3 separate regions of the Homo sapiens genome follow, and all the other regions are linked to region 2. Evidence: promoter capture Hi-C in 16 types of primary human blood cells and fetal thymus (Javierre and others, 2016). All regions are on one chromosome and are shown on one strand. Each heading gives the region's core, a stretch centred on a gene start or on the middle of the fragment in contact. The rest is flanking DNA. Distances are from core to core; before and after follow the strand shown.

What was found. The method cuts DNA at HindIII sites, captures the fragments that hold promoters and counts their contacts. A CHiCAGO score of 5 or more calls a contact.
Region 1: a contact is called between the fragment with the promoter of SUPT16H here and a fragment that was not itself captured in region 2, in 1 of 17 cell types (fetal thymus). The highest score is 6.3, in fetal thymus.
Region 3: the fragment with the promoter of HNRNPC here is called in contact with a fragment that was not itself captured in region 2 in 1 of 17 cell types (non-activated CD4 T cells); the score reaches 6.1 in non-activated CD4 T cells.

The regions. Positions count from the first base shown.
Region 1 is chr14:21,382,664-21,385,363 of GRCh38, forward strand. It overlaps SUPT16H (SPT16 homolog, facilitates chromatin remodeling subunit), which reads right to left and starts at 1,356. Exons shown (of 26, transcript NM_007192.4): 1 at 1,199-1,356. The coding sequence starts at 1,264. CHD8 (chromodomain helicase DNA binding protein 8) reads right to left here. Exons shown (of 38, transcript NM_001170629.2): 38 at 2,536-2,700. LOC107984643 (a long non-coding RNA gene) reads left to right here and starts at 1,610. Exons shown (of 2, transcript XR_001750627.2): 1 at 1,610-2,050. The HindIII fragment of the contact is 3,293 bases long and covers 1-2,025 here.
Region 2 is chr14:22,922,461-22,925,160 of GRCh38, forward strand. PRMT5 (protein arginine methyltransferase 5) reads right to left here. Exons shown (of 17, transcript NM_006109.5): 8 at 2,419-2,580; 9 at 2,172-2,249; 10 at 2,019-2,077; 11 at 1,810-1,932; 12 at 1,548-1,723; 13 at 591-700; 14 at 282-375; 15 at 1-99. PRMT5-AS1 (PRMT5 antisense RNA 1) reads left to right here. Exons shown (of 2, transcript NR_120600.1): 2 at 619-947. It overlaps LOC124903285 (a long non-coding RNA gene), which reads left to right and starts at 1,841. Exons shown (of 2, transcript XR_007064073.1): 1 at 1,841-1,981. The HindIII fragment of the contact is 8,606 bases long and covers 1-2,700 here.
Region 3 is chr14:21,268,089-21,270,788 of GRCh38, forward strand. HNRNPC (heterogeneous nuclear ribonucleoprotein C) reads right to left here and starts at 1,354. Exons shown (of 9, transcript NM_004500.4): 1 at 1,210-1,354. RefSeq lists enhancers at 833-1,457, 1,095-1,354, 1,458-2,083 and a silencer at 1,445-1,524. The HindIII fragment of the contact is 8,584 bases long and covers 1-2,700 here.

The DNA.
Region 1 (2,700 bases), core at 106-2,605, 1.5 Mb before region 2:
TTGAATAATATGACACTGAGAGAAGCTGCAAAAAATCATTTGGTAGAAATTAATCAAAAAATTAAAAAAAATAAAATGTTCAGTATTCATCTAGCATTTAGTTCTTATTTTTCCTTTTCATAAAATGCAAGAGAATCAATTTTATTTTCAATTATCTAATGTATTTAGCCCCAAAAGATGAAACATGCACAGACAGCTTTAATATGAATGGCAAGGAAACGACCAATTTTAATGGCTTGGTTTTAGTAGATGACCAGTTTGAAAGATAATTTACAATGCTGAAATGAGAGCTGATCATTTTTCTCAAAACGTTTTTCAGGTTAAAAAAAAATCTTTATTAGCTGTATCTTCCCTTGATGACAGGGTTCAGGGGCAAGACTTAAGCTAGCCAACTCAGACTGCATCACAGAATGCAACCAAATGTTTGCTCAATTAGTAAGTTAACATCATAAAAATAAGTTTTAACTGTGGACGTTTTTAGAGCAGCAAAACTGCCGAATCTTTAAAAAACTGGGAACTGCCACAGCTCTTTTAATGAACACGTGCCCCGGATACGCTACCAAGGAACTAATAAGGTTTTAGGCATCGTTTTGTTTTGTTTTGTTATTACTAATGCCTGCAGGCTTTCAGCGTTAGGTCCCTCTCTGTAACCCACAGCAGGGCCTAGAACATGAGGCGGTTGCGCGTGAGCAGTATTTCTTTTTTTAACTCCAGCAAAAGCCCCGCAAACGATAAACGCTAAAAGCCCGATTGACATCCTCCTTGCCCTTCCATCTCTCCTTTACGAAGACGGTTATAATCCTGGCGGGACCAGGGGTGGAATATTGTGGTTCTGGAGGGACAGAGCGAGTGCGTGAGAACACGGCAGGGGAGGGCAGCAAGACGTGACCACGGAGTAGGAGGGAAGGATGTTGCCTCTTCTAGGGCGGGAAGAGACTGCGAGAGGTGCTGCTATGCATGACCAAGGCTGGCACGCGGGGAAGATGGTGATGGCCGCAGGACAGGGTGAATGCGGGGGATTCCCTGTTAAGGGGCAGCGTTCGTGGCCGCCTCCGGTGAATGATTCGGGAGCAACGAAAAGGGTGAGGCACAGAACCCGGGAATTCCTGACCGAAAGAGAAAAAAGGGCGCCGAGAAACAGGGTTATTATGGGATGGCTAAGGGGGCTCCCTAGGAAAAATTACAGGATCTTCCTCACCCGCCAATTGCTGTACAGTCTCTTCACTCGCCGATAATAAGCGTCTTTGTCCAGAGTCACAGCCATAGCCCCGGACGCCGCTTCTCCTCGGGTTCCGAGAATCACGCGAGGTCCCGGCTCAGCCACCCGCTCTCGGCCCAGGAATCCCGCACTCTCCCAATGACCCGGAAGTATCGACCTCAAAGATGCCCTTTCCGCTTCCGGGTCCCAACAGCGTTAGGTTTTTTTTTTGTTTGTTTGTTTGTTTTGTTTTTTTCCAACCCTCTTTCGGATGGACGGGGGAAAGAGAGAAAGAAAAACGAGGGAAAATCAACAAAATGTGCGATGCAAAGAGTCGATTTTCGCGGGGTTTGTCAACTTCGCCACTGCCGCACGCGAATCGACGTCGTCACGTGACGGTCTGCCTCCGCCCTTATTAACTCTCAGCCCAGCGGCGGTTTCCAGGACCTCAGACTTTTTGCCGAGGCGGCAGTCCCTAGACGAAGCGAAGGAGGCGGCGCCTGCCCCGCCCACAAGAGCTGCCGCGCGCGGGTGTTATAGCTCCACCCCATCTGCAAAGGAAGGGGGAGCGGAAAGAGCGGGATCTAGCGTGGGATAAAAGTGGGACTACTACAGTGTAACTGGGCATGCGCCCCTCCTAGAAATGATGGGAATGCAAAAGCCCTTGACTGCTCCAGGACTCGAGGGATCCTCGGTGCCAGGATGCTGGGTCAAGCGCTCCGCCGGGACAGAGGACTCATACCAGGGAAATGGAGCCCAGCCTCGTGATAAACTACGACCCAAGCTGGGGGAGGAACCTAGTTTTCGAAAGGAAAATAATATGCGCAAGCTTTAACTGAGCAGTGGGATGGTGTAAGTCAGAGGAAACAGATGACTTGAGGGGCTCTACAAACTTTTAGTTCCTTCCCACAACCCCACCCCCTGAGCCCAAGTCGCGGCAGCATCCTTCCAGTCGGCCAGTCCCCTTGCTGCAGTTCATGAAAACTGGCACTATTCTATGGCTTCCCCCAAATAACCGTTACTTCAGTTAATTAGAAACAAAACATAAATGGTTCCTGATGACATTCTTGCTCCCTGTCTCTTCTAAAAACTTGGAGTTTGAATCCAGAAGTTTGCCTACCTACCATTTACCTTAAATAATTCCCTTGCCTTTAGCCAGCTGGACAGTCTACATTTGTATATACCCTTTAGAGGAGTACAGATGACTTGTCTGCTGTAAGGCAATTTAGTATAAACAGTATTGAACTTAAGGAAAGTGGTGCTGAAATTACCCACCATTAACAACTCAAAATCAATACACTGGGTTTGAGCAAACATAGAACAAAGGAAGAGTGGAAAAGGATTAACTTAAATTTATTAATGCCAAGGGGAAAGAAGGTAACAGTTCCTGACCCTCCAGCTGTATCCACAGTTCGGCCAGGAACAGGCTCTGCCAGAGGCTAGGGCCAGCGCTACATAGTCTGTGGTTAATGGAGGTGACTAGGGAGGGGTGAGCACACCAG
Region 2 (2,700 bases), core at 171-2,670:
AAAGCACAGTCTCAAAGTAGCCGGCAAAGCCATGTAGTACTGTGTTCACCTCCACAGGAAATTCCAAGGTGCAATAGCGGTTGTTGTCAATCATAGGATCTGTCAGGAAATAATTATGTGGGTGACAAGGGGCCAGAAGCTCTAGACAACTTGATAAAGCATGAGCAAGACCCAGGAAAGGAAGAGTAGATAAGGCAGACTAGGGACAGTAAGGGAAGAAAGCAGGAGGAAGGAAGAAGCCCGTACCCCTCTAGTCAGAGGACAGCCATAAAAGAACCTACCTCTGTTGGGATGGCTGAAGGTGAAACAGGGCTGGGGTGCAGAGAGCTGGTGGAAGTTGTGCAGCCGTACCACATAAGGCATCTCAAACTGGGCCTGTCAGAGACAGAAAGAGAGAGAGAGTGTTGGGGAAGACACACAAGAGAGAACTACTTCCCCAAGGATTAAAAAAAGTTTTACTTTAGTGCTTCCCCAATCCCTAACTTCTCCTTCACCTCTTCATCCCCAGCAGAAGAAAATAGCTGATGCAAATACAGAAAAAGAAGAGGACTAAAGAGTACCACTTCTTTCCAGAGAGAGTGGTTCTTTACCTCAGGGTCACGGTCCTTCTCCCTACAGGCTCGGACCTCATTGTACAGCTTGGAGGAAGAGATGGGAGCCAGAAAGGAAGTGTACTCCCCGGGGATGCTCACACCATCATCTGCACAGCAGGAGAGTCAAATTAGTTCCAGAGGGAGGGAAATGGTATGTCTGTACTAACTGAAGGATCAGAAGGATCAAACCTCCCATGTCAAAACCAACCAACGTTGGCATGGGCATGGAAGAAAGAGACAAATGCATGTTGTCACATTACTAAGCCAGCCTGCTTCCAACTACTGTCATGGAGGATTCCACTACTAGGTTAATTTACAGAGTCACACAGATTAAAACTGAAAGAACCCAAGATAGTCTAATCTGGTGGTTCTTAACTTTTGTGGGGTCACAAAGTCCCACAAAAGTTCCTGATGAAAGCTAAGCTCAGGGTACATATGTCATATTTATTTATTTATTTATTTATTTATTTATTTATTTGAGATGGAGTCTCGCTCTGTTGCCCAGGCTGGAGTGCAGTGGCACAATCTCAGCTCACTGCAACCTTCTCCTCCCAGGTTCAAGTGATTCTCGCGCCTCAGCCTCCCGAGTAGCTGGGATTACAGGCGTGCACCGCCACGCCTGGCTAATTTTTGTATTTTTAGTAGTGATGGGGTTTCGCCATGTTGCCCAGGCTGGTCTCAAACTCCTGACCTCCCGCCTTGGCCTCCCAAAGTGCTGCAATTACAGGCATGAGCCACCGCGCCCAGCCCACTCCCTTCATTTTACAAATATGAACACTAAGGTTTGGAGAGATGACTTCATTTGCTAGGGGCACAGAGGCAGTGAAGCAGTGGCTCTCAAACTCATATGATGTGACCCAGGTCCAACCCACTTTCCCCTAAACCCTGTACCCTCCTCCCAGGTTGCTGTCTCACCCATCATCACCCTCCACCTACACCCCAACCTGGGGGCACCTTTTAGGAAGTGCTGGGCTCCATCCAGGCACTCAGGCGACAATTCATTGTCAGCAAATGAGCCCAGAAGCTCACTGACAATGATGTCTGCTTTCTCTGGAGCCACCCATTCCCTCATGTCTGATGAGACTACGGTCACTTGGCTTCCCCATTCTTCAAACTGCCAGTTCTCTAGCCTGAAACAGAGACAATAAGGTAAGGAGAGATGTTAAGGAAATTTGGCAATGAGGACTAACTTCCCAGCAAGCAGGTTGCTACTCACGTCACCACGGCATTTGGGTTTTTCTCCACAGCATACAGCTTTATCCGCCGGTCGGCCTGCTTGGCTGCCCGCAGGGAAGCGTTCACCAGGGGTCCCCGTCCTGCTCCCAGCACCATCAGTACCCTAAGAAAGAAAGGGAAGAGTCAAGCAGACTTGGCATATACAGATATAGGTATGCAAGTCCCTGAGATTGAGGGGAAAGCACTCACTGGACATTGGTATCCTTCTCCTCTTCTGGTACTCGGTCTAGCAGACATTTATAGATGGCCTGGAGGGAGGAGAGAATATCCCATGGTTGTAATCCCATCCTCCCCAGGTCATGCTGGCCCTGTGCTTTCCTCACCCTGGGCACCACACAGTACCTGCTGGTACTGAGAGTATTTGATGGGGTCCTTTTCAAACACTTCATATGTCTGAGATTCCAGATTGTCCATCAGTGGCTGATGAATGAGGAAAAGGACAAAGTTAGCCAGTTTCTGGCAAAGGACAATGCACTAAAATATCAAAAACTTTCCACTGCTTTCTGAGTTTTAGTAAGATTTGGAGGCATATATTCTCAAGAAACATTTTCCATCCCACCTTCCTCCTCTAAGTGCACTCCAGACCCACCTGAAGCGGGGACTGCAGATAGTCTTCATAGCCCTTGGCAAAGAGTTCATAGGCATTAGGTGGAGGACGGTTCTGGCTTAAGTATTCCAGGTATTGGAGGTAGGAGCAGAACTCCTTCTCTGAGTGGTGGTTGGTGCCTGTGATGATGAACTGCACCTCCAACTGTGAGAAAAGTCAGACCATCAGACACAGCCCTCAAACCAAGATTCTGGAATATTATGGTATATGGCCAAAGAGCCCTAGTGTAAAATAAGGCCCAGATCAACAGTTCTCTTTTTTTTT
Region 3 (2,700 bases), core at 104-2,603, 1.7 Mb before region 2:
AAAAATAAACTTAGCCAAATCTCATGTGAGGATTAAAAAAAGCGATGTCCCAGATAAGTCAATGTGACACTAAAGATCTAAACAATTTTTTTTAACTTTTAAGTTTTTTATCAAATTTCAGCACCCAGCAAATAATAGGCACTGTTAATATTTGCTTAATATAACGTAGCTGTGAATTTTTGCCCACATTTAGGCGGACGGGAAAATTAACGCCAGAATATCCCGAAAGTCAAATTTTGTCATCTTACACTTAGGAAGTTACGTTAAAAAATTCTCAAGTCTCGTAGTATTTTTCTTAAGCGCAATTTGGGAATTTCCAGTTACCTCGTGGTTTCCGTCATCAGGTTCTTGGCAAAGATTGCAATACAGTAGTTTTAGAACTATATTAACTAGGTATTCCATTAACTAGGTAAAAACCACTCGACTGACCTCGTGGTCAAATTCCTTACTAGTGCTGCTACTGACTTAATATGACCCTAGCAACCAACACTTTTCTGCCTCAGTTTCCGTCTGAGAAAGAGAGTTAATACCTACCTCAAGCAAAGTTCCACTAACTTATATATTTCAAGTGTTTTGTAACCTGCAGATGAAAAGTCAGCTGTAAATATTAATATAGTTATATCACAATATTTCCTTTTACAAATGTAAGTGAAAATAACTACTTCGAGCTCCATCATTTGCTCATAGAGAGAAATAAAATAAAAAGTTATCAGTAAAATGCTGAATCTTTTGTTAAACCTTTCTCGTAGGCCACGCGGCACGATCCAGGATTTAAAGGCTCGCGATACATCTACTTGGTAACCTTCCCCCTTCCCCTCCCCCACTTTTTACATGTAAGAAGAACGGAGGTAATAGAAGGCATCGGCGCTACGTTAACTTCGACTATATTAATGAGCATCACGATCTTCATTTTCATGATCCCGTAGTCCTCGCGGTCGTAGAAAATGAAAGGAAAGCAGCCGTTAACACAGGAAGAGCGAAAAAAGGACATTTTCCCTGGCGATCGTGGCCTAGAGGACACCAGGTTAAACCTATACAGAGGCTGAGGCCTATAAAACTGCCCCCGGCTTCAACCTAATCCCCCAAAACAAGCAGAATAAATGAGGGCCCGGTTAGTTAGGGGGAAGGATTCCCACATCTTCTCTCCCACACCCCCTCTCGCTTCCCGAAAAACCCAGCGCCTTCCCTGCGTCCGCCCTCTCCACTTACCAAGAAGGGGAGGGAGAAGAGATTCGATTCTGAGTCTCCTACTCCCGGGTTCTGCGTAGAGAAGCCGACTGCTGCTGGAGGTCGGCAACGCGGCCACAACCGCTCAGTCTTCGTCTCTTCACAAAATGGCCCCCGAGTCTCCTCTGCCGCCGAGGCGAAGGCCTAGTCCCCGCCCCATTCCTGAGAATCTTCCTATTGGCTGTGCGTTTTTTCGCTCCCGCTCCTAATTAGACAGTTCAACCGCTCCTCACAATGATATCCAATCACAATTAGCAGTGGGTTAGACTAAGCAGGCGAATTTCCACATGCGTGAGAGAAACTAGTTTATAACTGGTTAGTTTTCCTGTCATTTATTGCCTGGAGAATGCTTATTGGCTATTGCACGGGACGACCCTCTGGGTGGAAACTCGCCTTTGTATCGCGCACCGTCTCACATCCGGGTATCTGGGAGGCCTGATTGGCGGCCGCGGCGTCCTATCGCTGCCCCTTAGAGTGCCTAGTAGAAGATCCGCCCAGACCTCGGATTTCCGGCTGCGCGGGGGCGGGGAAAGGGTTGAGGGGCGTAGTTAGGTGACGGGCGCAAAAGACCTGCCCCAGCCCCGGGCCTAGGGAAAAAAAAGCGCGAAATGAAGCCTCCGTTGTGCAATGTGAATAAAGAAAGGACTTTTCTTAAAATGAGGAGGGAGCAGCAGTGACTAGGCCTTGTTAAAGTGTGTAGAAAACTAACCAGTCCTGCAGTTTTTCCAACCCCAGACCCTTTCTCAGTTCCAGATTCGAATGTCAGCTACCTCGTAGACATCTGCTTCTTGGCCTATTAAACCCTTCTTCAGACAACACATGTTCCATCGAAACCAACTGACTTCCTTATTCCTCTCCAATATAAAAAGGAAGTGCAGAATCCTGGCCTCTGGCCCCAGGGCATCTAATATCTTAAGTGCCAGCAAAATTGGCCCATCCTTCCAAATCTGGTCCCTTAATTTCCCTCCTCTTGAAATGGCTTGTCTCCTACCTACCCCCGTCACCTGCCAGTCTCTCTGGTTACATTATAGGAACTGCGCACGCAGTGGGGTAGCATCAGCTCTACTAAGCCAGCGGTTTCTTTTTTCTTTTCTTTTTTTTTTTTTTTTTTTTTTTTTTTTGAGGCAGAGTCACTGTCGCCCAGGCTGGAGTGCAGTGGCGCGATCTTGGCTCACTGCAACCTCCGCCTCCCGGGTTCAAGCGATTTTCCTGCCTCAGCCTCCTGAGTAGCTGGAACTACAGGTGCGCGCCACCATGTCCAGCTAATTTTTGTATTTTTAGTACAGATGGGGTTTCGCCATGTTGGCCAGACTGTTCAGGTGATCCGCCCGCCTCTGCCTCCCAAAGTGATAAGATTATAGGCGTGAGCCACCACGCCAGACCACTTTAAACTATTTTAAAAAGCAAAGACGAAAAATATGGGAGAAAGTATACACTAAAGTGTTAGTAGTGGTTCTCTCCTGGTGGGAAAAT